2 separate regions of the Homo sapiens genome follow, and region 1 is linked to region 2. The links are contacts of gene promoters, found by promoter capture Hi-C in blood cells and fetal thymus (Javierre and others, 2016). All regions are on one chromosome and are shown on one strand. Each heading gives the region's core, a stretch centred on a gene start or on the middle of the fragment in contact. The rest is flanking DNA. Distances are from core to core; before and after follow the strand shown.

Evidence for each region. The method cuts DNA at HindIII sites, captures the fragments that hold promoters and counts their contacts. A CHiCAGO score of 5 or more calls a contact.
Region 1: a contact is called between a fragment that was not itself captured here and the fragment with the promoter of STAR in region 2, in 1 of 17 cell types (endothelial precursors). The highest score is 6.0, in endothelial precursors.

The regions. Positions count from the first base shown.
Region 1 is chr8:38,705,630-38,712,622 of GRCh38, reverse strand. No RefSeq gene overlaps it. Among named protein-coding and RNA genes, the nearest start is that of TACC1, 78 kb to the left of the region's middle. The HindIII fragment of the contact is 1,829 bases long and covers 1,721-3,549 here.
Region 2 is chr8:38,149,135-38,156,443 of GRCh38, reverse strand. It overlaps STAR (steroidogenic acute regulatory protein), which reads left to right and starts at 5,492. Exons shown (of 7, transcript NM_000349.3): 1 at 5,492-5,689. The coding sequence starts at 5,626. It overlaps LOC105379382 (a long non-coding RNA gene), which reads right to left and starts at 105. Exons shown (of 2, transcript XR_949687.2): 1 at 20-105. RefSeq lists enhancers at 1,944-2,929, 4,973-5,005, 5,354-5,653 and a promoter at 4,204-5,519. The HindIII fragment of the contact is 1,310 bases long and covers 4,209-5,518 here.

The DNA of each region.
Region 1 (6,993 bases), core at 1,386-3,885, 560 kb before region 2:
AGCCATCTTGGCCCCGAGAGTCCCATGTCTAGGGAACTTGCTGCCCTTCCCAGCCACCACCAGTGCCTATGGCTTATATGCCCAGGTATCCTGACCCAGTGATGCCCCTCCAGAGCAGGAATCATCACCACGATAAGTTAGGCCCGGCTCCACCCTACCCAGGAGGCCTTCCTGAAAACAGCATCACAGAGAATTCGGAGGACAACATAGCTACTGCTTTGATGTCGGGCTTAAAGAGAAAGCATGCCTCCTAAAGCAGAGAGAGAGGAGAGAAAGAGATAATCAGCCTCTCGGTGTCTCATTTCATGAAGAGGGTCAGATTGTACAAATGGGGAGTTAAATAAAAAAGGATGTAGGAGGAGGTTCAAACTAATTTGAGGTCAGAAAAGTGAGAAACATATTTTTAGTTTCTAAGACCACCTAAAGAAGGCAGGGTAGTCCAGGCGTGGTGGCTCACTTCTGTAATCCCAGCACTTGGGGAGGTTGAGGCGGGAGGATTGCCTGAGCTCAGGAGTTTGAGACCAGCCTGGGCAACAAGGTGGAACCACATCTCTAAAAAAAAAAAAAAAAAATAGCCAGGTATGGTGGTGCATGCCTATAGTTCCAGCTACTTGTGGGGCTGAGGCGGGAGGCTCTCTTGAGCCCAGGAGATCAAGGCTGCAGTGAGCCAAGATCATGCCACTGCACTCCAGCCTGGGTGACAGAGCAAGACTGGGTCTCAAAAAAAAAAAAAAAAAAAAAAACCAGGGTATACCACATGTAGAATATTATGATTTAAAAGTAGTTCCCTCTCCAATCCTAGTTCCTCTAGTCCATCTTATTTTATTTATTTATTTATTTAAGAATGAGTTTCGCTCTTGTTGCCCAGGCTGGAGTACAGCAACACCATCTCAGCTCACTGCAACCTCTGCCTTCTGGGTTCAAGCGATTCTCCTGCCTCAGCCTCCCACGTAGCTGGGACTACAGGCACCCACCACCATGCCTGGCTAATTTTTGCATTTTTAGCAGAGATGGGGTTTCACCATGTTGGTCAGGCTGGTCTCGAACTCTTGACCTCAGGTGATCCACCCACCTCAGCCTCCCAAAGTGCTGGGATTATAGGCGTAAGCCACCACACCCGGCCTAGTCCACCTTATTTTATTGTGGCTACACTGTAAATCCATTCTGGAAGTGGCCAGGGTCATGTCTCTATACTAGGGGTTCAGCTGCAGATAGTGGGGAGCATTTCCAAGGAGGCCTGAGAGAAGGCAGGTGTTATGCATGATGCAAAACAGCAGGGTGATGGCAGAGCTCTGACCTCAATGCTCCTGAACTAGAGGTGGTCGTTAGGACTAGGTTGTTTTCCAACAGCTGACACCCCTGTGATTGGACCAAAGAGTTAGATATTTTAACCTAGTGTGTAAACGTGGTTAATCTCCGGCTTCTGTTTAAGCAATGGCCCATCTTCCTGGAAACATTCCTGCTCTCTGAGCCCTGGGATCTTGGAATAGAACCACTTGCCGGAAGTGGCCATTGCTGCTCCACCACTGTAGAAAAATCTCCTGCCCAGGTGCCCAGGCTTCTCTGTTTTATCAGCTGCTGCAAGATTCTCCATCACCTCCCCAAGCAGACCCAGCAGGAATCCAACCATTGCAAGCCTATCACTTTTCAACAACGTGGACACTTACATGGTAAGACTAGATCCACGTTATGCTGGAGTGAGGAGAGGCTCAGTAAAGCTTCCTATCTCCCAGAGAAGCTATGTGCTGAGAACTGACCCAGCCAGTTGTCCTGGACAGTAAGTGAATCAATCGGTAGAAGCCTCTGCTATGCGCCTGGGCTCTGTGTTCAGTACTGTAGTTTATACGAAAGAAGCCAAGAAAGATGTGGTCCTGCCGTCCGTGAAGTTGCACCCTAGTCTAACTCACAAGACTAACGAACATGTGGGCTGAGATCATACGATAAGGCCGCATGACCATTCTGGCCTTCGGTAAACCCAAGCCTGAACATATATCTAAAGCTATGGTGCTTCGTTAAATAATACTGCACATTGTTATTTAACTTTTCTTCTATGTCTTGTACCACCATAAGGTCATAAATTCCTCTAAAGTAGGAAGCACAACTTACCCTTTTTAGGGTCTCATGCATCCCCCCACCCCCTACAGCTTTCAGCACAGGTGCTTGTGATGTTGTTACTGGATGCTCTGGTGAGTATAATTGCGTGAAACACAATAGAATTGCAATAGGAGTTTGTGTACGGGAGTAATCTGGGTGGGCTGGGGTAGTTGGAGAGGGAGGCTTCCCTGGAACTACAAAGGGCAATTGACAGTAAAAATACCACAGTTTTTTTTTCTTTTCCTTTTGAAAGTAGTGATTAAAGACAACATTTAAAAAACTGTAAAAGTGTAAATATTCATTATAGAAACATGTCAAATGAAGAAAAATATAAAGAAGGAGATTCAAATCACGGGTAATTTCATTCCCAGAATGAGTGAGCTCACAGAATACATAATTATCAACTGTAACAAGTGCAGTGAAGAAAGAGACCAGCAAGAGAATAAATCTGAGAGACCTGATCTAGAATAGAGGAGGCCTCTCCCAGGATGCAACATTGAAGCTGAGACCTGAAGGATGAGCAGGGCTGAGATGGATGAAGAGAGAGAGAAGCACATAACAGGTGTGTTAAAGGATGCATTTCTTTAAGAAGCTAATTATGCTTGTAATCTCAGCACTTAGGGAGGCCGAGGTGGGCAGATCGCTTGAACCCAGGAGTTTGGGACCAGTCTGGGCAACATGGAGGAACCTCATCTTTACAAACACACACACACACACACACACACACACACACACACACACACACACACAAAATATTAGCTGGGCCTGGTGGCATGCACCTGTAAGTCCTAGCTACTCAGGAGGCTGAAGTAGGAGGATCACTTGAGCCTGGGAGGTCAAGGCTGCAGGGAGCCATGATTGCACCATTGCATTCCAGCCTGGGCCACAGAGTAAGACCCTCAAAAAAAAAAAAACAAAAAAAACCAGGTGAATCATCATAAGATGAACATCTGTCAAAGTTTTTATTTAATCTTTAACCTCATTAATGAATGAGGGAAACATTAAGATCTTACAACTGGTTCAAAGGCTAATTCAAAGTACCACACTTACATAGGTCAATCAAGAATGCTGAAATGAACATGTCAAAGATTCCAAATTCGGTGGATGAAGGGCAGTTGTCCCTCTGCTGGATAGAATGTATTGGCATATGGAAAATAATCCTTACATTGCTCTTAGTCATCTACAACTTGCAGAGTTGTCTCTAGCTCAGAAAATGAAAGATGGAGATGACCAGGAAGAGTAAGTCAGAATGCCTACAAATTCTTCCCCCATTTCAAAGCCTTTCAGAGTTTGTCCTGATGTGTGCAAATGTCCTGGGAAGGAAACAGCTTAAGAGAAATGAAAGAAGAGGAGGTTGCTGGGGTATAATGAGCCAGGAGGAGGGTGGTTGAGATAGGATTCATGGTGTACGTTCCCATTTGTGGGCTGTGTGTTTGTGTGTGTCAAGGTAAAGCTTATTTCTTCTTTATTTATTTATTTATTTATTTATTTATTTATTTATTTATTGAGACAGAGTCTCGTTCTGTTGCCCAGGCTGGAGTGCAGTGGTGCAATCTCGGCTCACTACATCCTCTGCCTCCAGGGTTCAAGCAATTCTCCTGCCTCAGCCTCCTGAGTACCTGAGATTACAGGTGCCCACTAACTCTTCCAGCTAATTTTTTTTTTTTTTTTTTTTTTTTTTTTTAGTGGAGACAGGGTTTCACTATATGTTGGCCAGGCTAGTCTTGAACTCCTGAACTCAAGTGATCCACCCACCTCAGCCTCCCAAAGTGCTGGGATTACAGGCATGAACCACCGTGCCCAGCCTCTTTTTTTTTTTTTTTTTAAGACCTAACTTTTTTAGGGCAGTTTTAGGTTCACAGCAAAATTGAGTGGAAAGTGCAGAGATTTCCCATACACCCACTGACCCCACATGCACCACCTCCCCATTATCCACATCCCTCACCACAGGGGTATATTTGTTACAACTGATGAACCTACATTGACATATCATTATAATTCAAATAGTGTAATTTATATTAGGGTTCACTGTTGGTGTTGTACATTCTGTTTAACTTTTATTATACATTGGAGAAGAAGGGAATGGCCTAATGCTAACAGACTCAGCAGAAAAACTCAGCAAGGCCTGTCTGCCTAGATTCTTCTTGGCCTCTCTGTGCAGAGCGCCTTCCTTCTGGGTATGGGGCAAGACACTGCTGGAATGGGAGTCTGATGACCTACAGCCAAACCAGGTAGGTCAGATTCTTTCTTTCTTTCTTTTTTTTTTTTTTTTTGAGATGGAGTTTTGCTCTTGTTGCTTAGGCTGGAGTGCAATGGCGTGGTCTTGGCTCACTGCAACCTCTACCTCCTCGGTTCAAGCGATCCTCCTGCCTCAGCCTCCCAAGTAGCTGGGATTACAGGCACCTGCCACCATGCCCAGCTAATTTTTATATTTTTAGTAGAGACAGGGTTTCACCATGTTGGCCAGGCTAGTCTTGAACTTCTGAGCTCAAGTGATCTGCCCACCTTGGCCTCCCAAAGTGCTGGGATTATGGGCATGAGCCACCGCTCCTGGCCAGATTATTCCTTTATGGCCAATTTTTACACAGAAGGCGGAGGGAAAGTTAGAGAGTAGTATTTTAGGTTTTATGGCTGGTTTGAGGGAAAGGGGTTCTGGTTTCTAAGACCTGCCAGGGTTTGGTCAAATGTAGGATGACATAATATATCCCTCATTGCATTATCATACAGAATATTTCTGCTGCCCTAAAAATCCTCTGTGTTCTGCCTATTCATTCCTCTCTCCCTTGTCTTTTTTTTTTTCGCTTAGCAATATAGGATAAACATTTTCTCATACCATCAAATATCCTTTTGAAGCCCAATTGTGAAAGCCTGCACCATTCCCTTGCAGTGGACACACCATAATGTATTAACTAAGGCCCTCAGTCCTCTTCATTTAAGTTGTTCCTATTTGAGATTCAGACACATTAGTCTTTGTTTTCATGAATCTCTGATGATTTCCCTAGGATAGATTTCTCTAAGTGGAAAGTCTATTCTAAAAGTGTTGATTAGCAAAAACTGCTTTCAAATGAAGTACTTTAGGAAAATATTGAGGTATGGAGAGGTAGCATCTTTGAGAGAGATGGAGACAGCATGAAGTGGGGCAGTTTTGGAGTCTGGATGTGTAGATTGGAAGAGGTGGGGGAGTAGAACGTGCCTCAAGGTATTGGGCTTGGGCTTTCCTTAGAGACAATGGGACATAGGCATATTTGGAAGAAGAACTAATTTGAGGGAAGAAGATAAATTTATTCAGGGACATGAAGGATTTGGGTTATTGGGGCTCAGAAAACGATACTTCAAAATGAAGGCCTCAGAAACAAAAGTTTTTCTCTGATCTTCTCTTGTCCTCCTGTCTCTCAGTCCCATCCTCCCGAGACTAGCCAGAGACACTAGAATCTAAGAACAACCCAAGGCAGGTCTTAGAAACCAGAACCCCTTCCCCCCAAAGCAAGCCATAAAAACTAAAAATATTACTCTCTAACTTTCCCCTTGCCTTCTGTTTAAAAATTTGCCATAAGGAAATTTTCCGACCTCCCTGATTGGACTGTAGGTCATAAGACCCCCTTTCCAGAAAGGGTCCTGCCCCAAACCCAGAAGGAAGGAGTGCTGCTCAGAGAGGCAAAGAAGACTCTAGACAGACAGTCCTTGCTTGGTGTTCCCACTCTGTCTATCAGCATTAGATGGTTCCCTTTTTGTCCAATCATATTATTGGACAATATTTAATATATTAATCATATATTAAATAAATGTGTATGCCTTTTCTCCAATTAATCTGCCTTCTGCAAGTTGATTTTTCAGCAAAACTTTTGAGGGCCAAGGGGAACCAGGGCGCACCTAGGGGCACAGGGGCAGAGTCTGGGCTGGAGAAGTGTATGAGTCCATTTTCACACTGCTATAAAGAACTTCCCAAGACTGGATAATTTATAAAGGAAAGAGGTTTATTTGACTCACAGTGCAGCATGGCTGGGGAGGCCTCAGGAAATTTACAATCATAGTGGAAGGTGAAGCAGGCATGTCTTACATGGCGGCAGGTGACAGAGAGCAAATGTGTGCATAGGAGGAATTGTCAAACACTTGTAAAACCATCAAATCTCATGAGAACTCACTCACTATCATGAGAACAGAATGGGGAAAGCTGCCCCCATGATCCAATCACTTCCCACCAGGTCCTGCTCTTGACACATGGGGATTATGGGAATTACAATTCAAGATGAGATTTGGGTAGGGACACAGAGCCAAACCATATAAAGAGGTAAATTTGGGAGTCATAGCAGAGATCTTCTAGTTAAAACCATGAGAGGAGCTGTCTAGGGGAGAGAGAGCCCCAGGGTGATCAGAGCCCTGCAGAAGAGCCATGCTCAGAGGCACATTTGGAAGACACAGCAAATAGGTAAACAGGGGAGAAAAAGGTGGGAAAGTGCCTTGGGAAGGCTGGGTCATAAACAATGTCAAGTACTGCCCTGAGGTCAGCAAGGCTGAGGACTAGGGGGGAAAACCATTGTGTTTGGCCAGAAGAAAGTCCTGGCAACCTCCAGCAAATGCAGTTGCAATAGAATTGTGGGGGTGGAAGTCCGCGGTTTAGGGAATAGTAGATGGAGGCATTGAGTGTCAGCCACAATGTGGAGGATTTTGGCAGCCAAAGGAAGCGGGAAGTCTGGAAATTAGCTAAAAAAGAGGAGAGTGGAGCATTGTATTTTGTGAGTGTGTGTCTTGTTCCTATTCCAAGCCAGCAGCTTCAGTCGGCTTTTCCACATCCCCTACCACAGTTTCCTCAGCTTATTTTTCAATCCTAAATATTTTTTCAATCTCAGAGGAGATTACGTGGCTTCATAGGACCAGCTCTTCACAGAGAGCCTGGAACAT
Region 2 (7,309 bases), core at 4,243-6,742:
AATCAAAAGTCGGGCTTACCTGCTTGAAATGGTGGGTGAGGGGGGGAAACAAGAGACTCCAACAGAATTTAAAGTTGAGTAAGCATCCATCACCCTAAAATTTATTGACTGCTAGATGGCAGCCAGGCATATGCTAAGATGCAACTATTAGCCCCACTTTTCACAGAGAGAGACAGGAGATTTTAAAAGGTTAACCCAGCCAGGCCCGGTGGCTCATGCCTGTAATCCCAGAGCTTTGGGAGGCTGAGGCAGGAGGATCGCTTGAGCCCAGGAGCTGAAGACCAGCCAGGGCAACATAGTGATATCCTGTCTCTACAAAAAATAATGAAATTAGCTGGGCATGGTGGTGCACACCTATAATCTCAGCTATCTGGGAGGCTAAGCTGGAAGGATCTCTTAAACCTGGGAGATTGAGGCTGCAGTCAACTGGGATTGTACCACTGCACTCCAGCCTGGGCAATAGAGCAAGACCTTGTCTCAAAAAAAAAAAAAAAAAAAAAAAAAGGGCTGGCACAGTGGCTCACGCCTATAATCTCAGCACTTTGGGAGGCCAAGGTGGGTGGATCCCAAGGTCAGGAGTTCAAGACCAGCCTGCCCAACATGATAAAACCCCATCTCTACTAAAAATACAAAAATTAGCCAAGTGTGGTGGTGCGTGCCTGTAATCCCAGCTACTCGGGAGGCTGAGGCAGGAGAATCCTGGGAGGCGGAGGTTGCAGTGAGCCGAAATTGTGCCATTGCACTCCAGCCTGGGTAAGACAGCGAGACTCCGTTTCAAAAAAAAAAAGTAAAACAAGGAGAAATTGGCAAGAGTCTTATTTATACTGTGATAAATATTTATCAAGGTGGGGCCAAAAGGTAAAATATTGGATCTTTTTTTTTTTTTTTTTGAGACGGAGTTTTGCTTTGCTCTTGTTGCCCAGGCTAGAGTGCAATGGCGCGATCTCGGCTCACCACAACCTCCACCGCCCAGGTTCAAGCAATTCTCCCGCCTCAGCCTCCCAAGTACCTGGGATTACAGGCATGCGCCATCATGCCTGGCTAATTTTTTTTGTATTTTTAGTAAAGACGGGGTTTCTCCATGTTGGTCAGGCTGGTCTCGAACTCCTGACCTCAGGTGATCCGCCCACCTCGGCCTCCCAAAGTGCTAGGATTACAGGCATGAGCCACCATGCCGGGCCAAAATATTGGATTCTAATTAAAGAGTAGGGTGAGGAAAGGCACAGAGGACAGCCTCTGAGGGGAGACTGCACTGCAAGTATCCCTGGAACAGAGAAGGTATGCACAGGATGGATGGCAGCAGGCACCACAGGGAGAGCTGAGCACTGCTGGGTAGAATCCAGGTGAGAACTGGAATGGCCAAATTGGAATTGTGCTAAGAATTCTGGACTTTATCTTGTGAGGTATTGATGTATTGTTACCTCATTTAAACCTTATAACTAACCTGAGAGGATGAAGAAAATAAAAAGAGGCTGGGCGTTGTGGCTCACGCCTGTAATCCCAGCACTTTGGGAGGCTGAGGCCACGTGGAATGGCCCAAGCTTCCCCTGACAGCCAGCTCGCAGCCCTCAGAGTCTCCTCCAAGCTGCTGGCCATCTGCTCTACCTGGGACACCCTTACCCCATCAACTCTCTATTTTCAACCCCCTCCACAAACCTAGCTAACTCCCATTCGTATTTTCCAGAAGCCTTCCGTAACATTCCTCCCTCCCTCCCCCATAGAATTAGAGGTTCCATCATCTCTACTTCCAAAACACCTCATCTGCTCTACGACTGTCCATACTGGGTCTATGGTTCAACTCATATTGTCCTAACTTTAGAGCCACATAGAGACATTCAGGAAAGGACTGTTGAATGAATGGAGGGAGGGAGGGAGAGAGGGAGGGAGGGAGAGAGGGAGGGAGGGAGGGAGAGAGGGAGGGAGGGAGGGAGGGAGGAAGGAAGGAAGGAAGGAAGGAAGGAAGGAAGGAAGGAAGGAAGGAAGGAATCCCCTTTTTTGCTCCAAAGCCCTGGCTCTCTCGCCTGGCCTGGGGGCCTTCCTCTCCAGCATGGCACATCCACACCACCTGAGCTGGCCTCCTGGCTCTCCTCCCCCATGGCCTGCCATGGTCATCTGGCCTCCTTTCTTGGAAGCTCTGCCCTCATCAAAAAGCAGAGCCAGATACAGATGGTCCAGAACCAGAGGAAATTCCCAGACCTCTCTCGCCACTTTACTGCTCAGAGGGATGGAGAGAGTTAATGAGTCATTCTGCCTGGAAAGGATGAGGGAGAGAGCCTTGGCCCTTGCAGAGGTCACCCAGCACCACCTCCCAACCACCCCCTCCCAGGAGTCAATGGCAGCCTCTGACATCAGCCACAGCCATAGGCTCTATCCTCCGTCTCCCACACCACCTCCACCCCTTTCAGAATGGCCATAATTCTCCACAGGAAGGCAGCAGCAGGGCCTTGATCATCATCTGCATGGCCTGTCCCATAATAACCGCCTTCCCCCTCCCCCCACCTCGCTGAGGCAGGCCTGCAGACACACATGTGCAGGAGAGGCACATGCCCCAGCAGATCAGAGGGAGGAGCCGGGGGAGCTGGCACCCCACCTGCCCAGCTCATCCACTGCACCTCCTCTCTGAAAGGTAGAGGGCCTAGGCACAGGCTGGCGACGGGGGAGAGGCCCTGCTGTCTTCCTTGGGGACTGAGGGCTGGAAACAATGCCTTCAGGCAGGTTTCCTGAGTCTAAAGATATACCTGCACCCCTAGCTGCTTTCCCAGTTGGTCACTCAATAGAGAAGGAGCACACCAGGCACAGTGGCTCACTTTGGGAGGCCGAGGCAGGAGGATGGCTTGACCCCAGGAGTTCAAGACCAGCCTGGGTAACATAGCAAGACCCCGTCTCTATTTTTAAAAATTAAAAAAAAAAAAAGTTTTAATAGAGAAGGAGCAAGAGTCCCCTGTGTCTCTGCTGGAGGTGAGTGCTGAGGGTGGGGACAGCTTTTAAGGGGGAAAGTGGACCCAGCACCTGCCTTGGGGAGATAATTCCACAGAAGAGACAAGCAAACACATACAAACCATTCAACAAATCAGGACCAGAACTAAGCCCCTCAAGTGATACTGACAGTAAGGGTGTGGTGGGAGGAGCCAGCATTCCAGAAGACCAGGATGGTCTAGGAAGGTTTCCTGGAGGAGGTTTTGAGGAAGGGGCCGGGTACCTCTAGGCAGCCTCTGCTCACAGGATTCCCCGACTGCATCACCGGGGTGGAAATCGGGGGCCAGGGGGGTGACTCCCCTGTTCTATATGGGCTCCAAGTGCCAGGCCTGGCTCTGAGCAGATCCTGTCCCTTTCACCCTGTCTGGTGTTGGGGAGACAGCGAGAGTGCATGGGGCCCCGGCACTGCTCCCCATTTTTAGGGCTCCCCTCTGCCTCTGTGAGGTGGTGGCAGGACACAGAACTCCCTCCCACAGGGAGCAGGGCCTGGGCCAGGGGCAGTTCCAGTGTGAGTTTTTCCACTCCCAATATTCTTGCCCAGTGAATCTGGCTTAAAAGCAGCCTCAAGGTCACTGTAAAGGGAAGAGATTCCGTCAGAGTCAGAGCCCAGCACGTGCTGCGCCTGGGTAAGGGTGAGTGGGAAATGCAGAGGCCTCGTGGGGCCTTGCTCAGCCTGACAGGGCCCCTAAAGTGCAAAGACTAGGGTGAACACCCCAACGCCCTGTCTTTTCTTTTTTTCCTTTTTTTTTTTTTGCAACAGAGTCTCGCGCTCTGTCATCCAGGCTGGAATGCAATGGTGTGATCTCAGATCACTGCAACCTCTACCTCCCAAGTTCAAGCAATTCTGCCTCAGCCTCCTGAGTAGCTGGGATTACAGGTGCCTGCCACTATGCCTGGCTAATTTTTGTTTTTTTGTTTTTGTTTTTGTTTTGAGACGGAGTCTTGCTCTGTCACCCAGGCTGGAGTACAGTGGCTTTATCTTGGCTCACTGCAACCTCTGCCTCCCGGGTTCAAGTGATTATCCTGCCTCAGTCTCCTGAGTAGCTGGGATTATAGGCATACGCTACCACTCCCGGCTAATTTTTGTATTGTCAGTAGAGACGAGGTTTCACCATGTTGGTCAGGCTGGTCTCAAACTCCTGACCTTGTGATTTGCCCGCCTCAGCCTCCCAAAGTGCTGGGATTACAGGCATGAGCCACTGTGCCCAGCCCATGCCCTGTCTTTTCAAGCTTTCTGCACATACCAAGACCCCCAGCCCAGCTCACTCAGACAAAGCTACTGGCGGGAAAGTGTGAGGAAGGGTGTGGGCGTGGCCCAGGCCCTCCTCTTCTCTCTGCCGTATACTGATAGGGCTGCCCCGCCCCCCCCCGCCCCCCCGCGACTCAGCCACGAGAGGTCATCCTTGCTCCAGCACAGACCCCTAAGAACCCTCACTCGGAACAGGACTTTGGGAAAGGTGGTTTCTATAAATAGATGAGTAAATAAATTGACAGTTGAATATACCAAGCGTCCTGGGGACCGCAGGAGGAACTGTGTACAGATGGCTTGAAGGCCAGAGGCTTGGGTTGTTGTCCTGGCCCTGCCACTGGCCAGCTGTTTGACCTTGAACAAGTCAGTTCCACTCTGTGGACTTCAGGGTCCTCACCCAGAAGAAGAGCAGCCATATGGTCTCTACTGCCTGGTAAACACCCTGGCTCACTCTCGCGAGACGGTGGTTCTCAAAGTGTAGTGTGTAGTCCACACAACACCTGCATTGCAACCACTGGGTATTTATTTATTTATTTATTTAATTTATTTATTTATGACGGAGTCTCACTCTGTCGCCCAGGATGGAGTGCAGTGGCACGATCTTGGCTTACTGCAACCTCTGCCTCCTGGGTTCAAGTGATTCTCATGCCTCAGCCTCCCGAGTAGCTGGGACTACAGGTGCCTGCCACATCACCCGGCTAATTTTTTGTATTTTTAGTAGAGATGAGGTTTCACCATGTTGGCCATGCTGGTCTCGAACGCCTGACCTCAAGTGATCTGCCCACCTCGGCCTCCCAAAGTGCTGGGGTTACAGGCGTAAGCCACCGCGCCTGGCCAAGGGAAGTTTTTTTCTTTTCTTTTTTTCTTTTTTCTTTTCTTTTCCTTCTTTTTTTTTTTTTTTTTTTTTTTTTTTTTTTTTTTTAACACAGGTTTCTGAGCCTCAATTCCAGATCAGCTGAGCCTGGAGTTTCTGAAGACAAGGGCTAGAAATCTGCACTTTAAAGTCTTGAAAACCACTGTGTGCCTTCATCTAAGCTGCCCCTGCTTCTCTCCCCTCCATCCCTCGCCTGGCCCTGTCCTCCCTACTCTCCCCTGCACCCTCCCCCGCCCCAAGCTCCCCACAAACGGCCAAAGCAGCAGTGTGAGGCAATCGCTCTATCCTTGACCCCTTCCTTTGCACAGTGAGTGATGGCGTTTTTATCTCCTGATGATGATGCACAGCCTTCAGCGGGGGACATTTAAGACGCAGAACACCAGGTCCAGGCTGCAGCTGCGGGACTCAGAGGCGAAGCTTGAGGGGCTCAGGAAGGACGAAGAACCACCCTTGAGAGAAGAGGCAGCAGCAGCGGCGGCAGCAGCAGCGGCAGCGACCCCACCACTGCCACATTTGCCAGGAAACAATGCTGCTAGCGACATTCAAGCTGTGCGCTGGGAGCTCCTACAGACACATGCGCAACATGAAGGGTGAGCGCTGCGGGAAGGAGGCGATGAGGGGTTGGCCAGCTCTCAGCGGATGAGGCTCAGGCCACCCAATTCTGATCCTAGTTGTGCCTCTTACTGGGTGAACCTGGGCAAGTTTCTTCCCTTCTTGAATCTCAGTTTTCCCCTCGGAAGAAGTGGGCTGGTTACTAAGATATATCCCTTCCAGATTCTATAATTTCTGGTCTCCCCTCCAGGACTCCAATCTTTTTTTCTCCTTTTCTTTCATTTTTATTCTTTTTCTTTCTTCCTTCCCTCCTTCCTTTCCTTTCTTTCTTCCTTTCTTCCTTCCCCTTTTCCTTCATTCGTTCTTTTTTTCTTCCGCCTTTTCTTTTTTTTTTGTTTGAATAAAGGTCTCTGTCACAGAGGCTGGAGTACAGTAGAACAATCATAGCTCACTGCAGCCTCAAACTCATGGGCTCAAGCCATCCTCCCACCTCAGCCTCTTGAGTACCTGGGACTACAGGCGTGCACCACCACAACCAGCTAGTTTTATTTATTTATTTTTATTTTTATTTTTTTTAGAGACAATGTCTTGCTATATTGGTCACGCTGGTCTTGACCCCCTGGGCTCAAGGGATTCTCCCACCTTGGCCTCCCAAAGTGCTGGGATTACAGGTGTGAGCCGCCACACCTGGCTTACTTTATTTTGAGATGGAGTCTCACTCTGTTGCCCAGCCTGGAGCGCAGTGGCACGATCTCGGCTCACTGCAACCTCCGCCTCCTGGGTAGCTGGGATTACAGGTGCATGCCACCACGCCTGGCTAGTTTTTGTATTTTTAGTAGAGACAGGGTTTCGCCACGTCGACCAGACTGGTCTTGAACTCCTGACCTCAGGTGATCTGCCTCCCAAACTGCTGGGATTATAGGCATGAGCCATGGCGCTCAGCCTATTTTATTTTTGAGGCAGTCTCGCTCTGTTGCCTAGGCTGGAGTGCACTGGCGCTATCTTGGCTCACTGCAGCCTCTGCGTCCTGGGTTCAAGCAATTCTCCTGCCTCAGCCTCCTGAGTGGCTGGGACCACAGGCGTGCACCACCATGCCTGGCCATCTTTCTTGAACTATTCCTGACTTTGCCTTCCTTCAGAGCTGGACAAGTCTTGTAGCAGGGGTACACAGGAAAGTCTTGCCCACAGTGGCAGAGTAAATATTAGACTTGACTCCCACAGGCAAAAAAAGACGGAGAAGAGACATAGGGGAGTAAGACAGGAGGGCAAGGTAAAGAGATAAGACGGAAGACTGATTATCATTGAATAGCCAGGAAGGGGCAGAAACCAGCTACAAGAGGCCACTTTTGTAGAGCTGATTCGCATCCAAGGTCATTTGAATCAATCCCCTGCTGCCACTGAAGGGTACACAAGTCAATCTAGGCACGATCTTTCCAATTACACTGGATTGAATTAGCTACCTTTAGAGCGAGAAGCCATGCTTAGATCTGCAGCTGGCAGTGGTGTTGTCGTCCTCACTAGATGGACAGGGCTTCCCTGGCCCAGAATCCAGGGGCACACAGAGTAGCTTATGCATGCAAGCACACAGACTCACAGAAGCACAGATTCATGCAATCAGATTCTGGCAAGCACACAGACCTCATGCAAGCACAGACTCG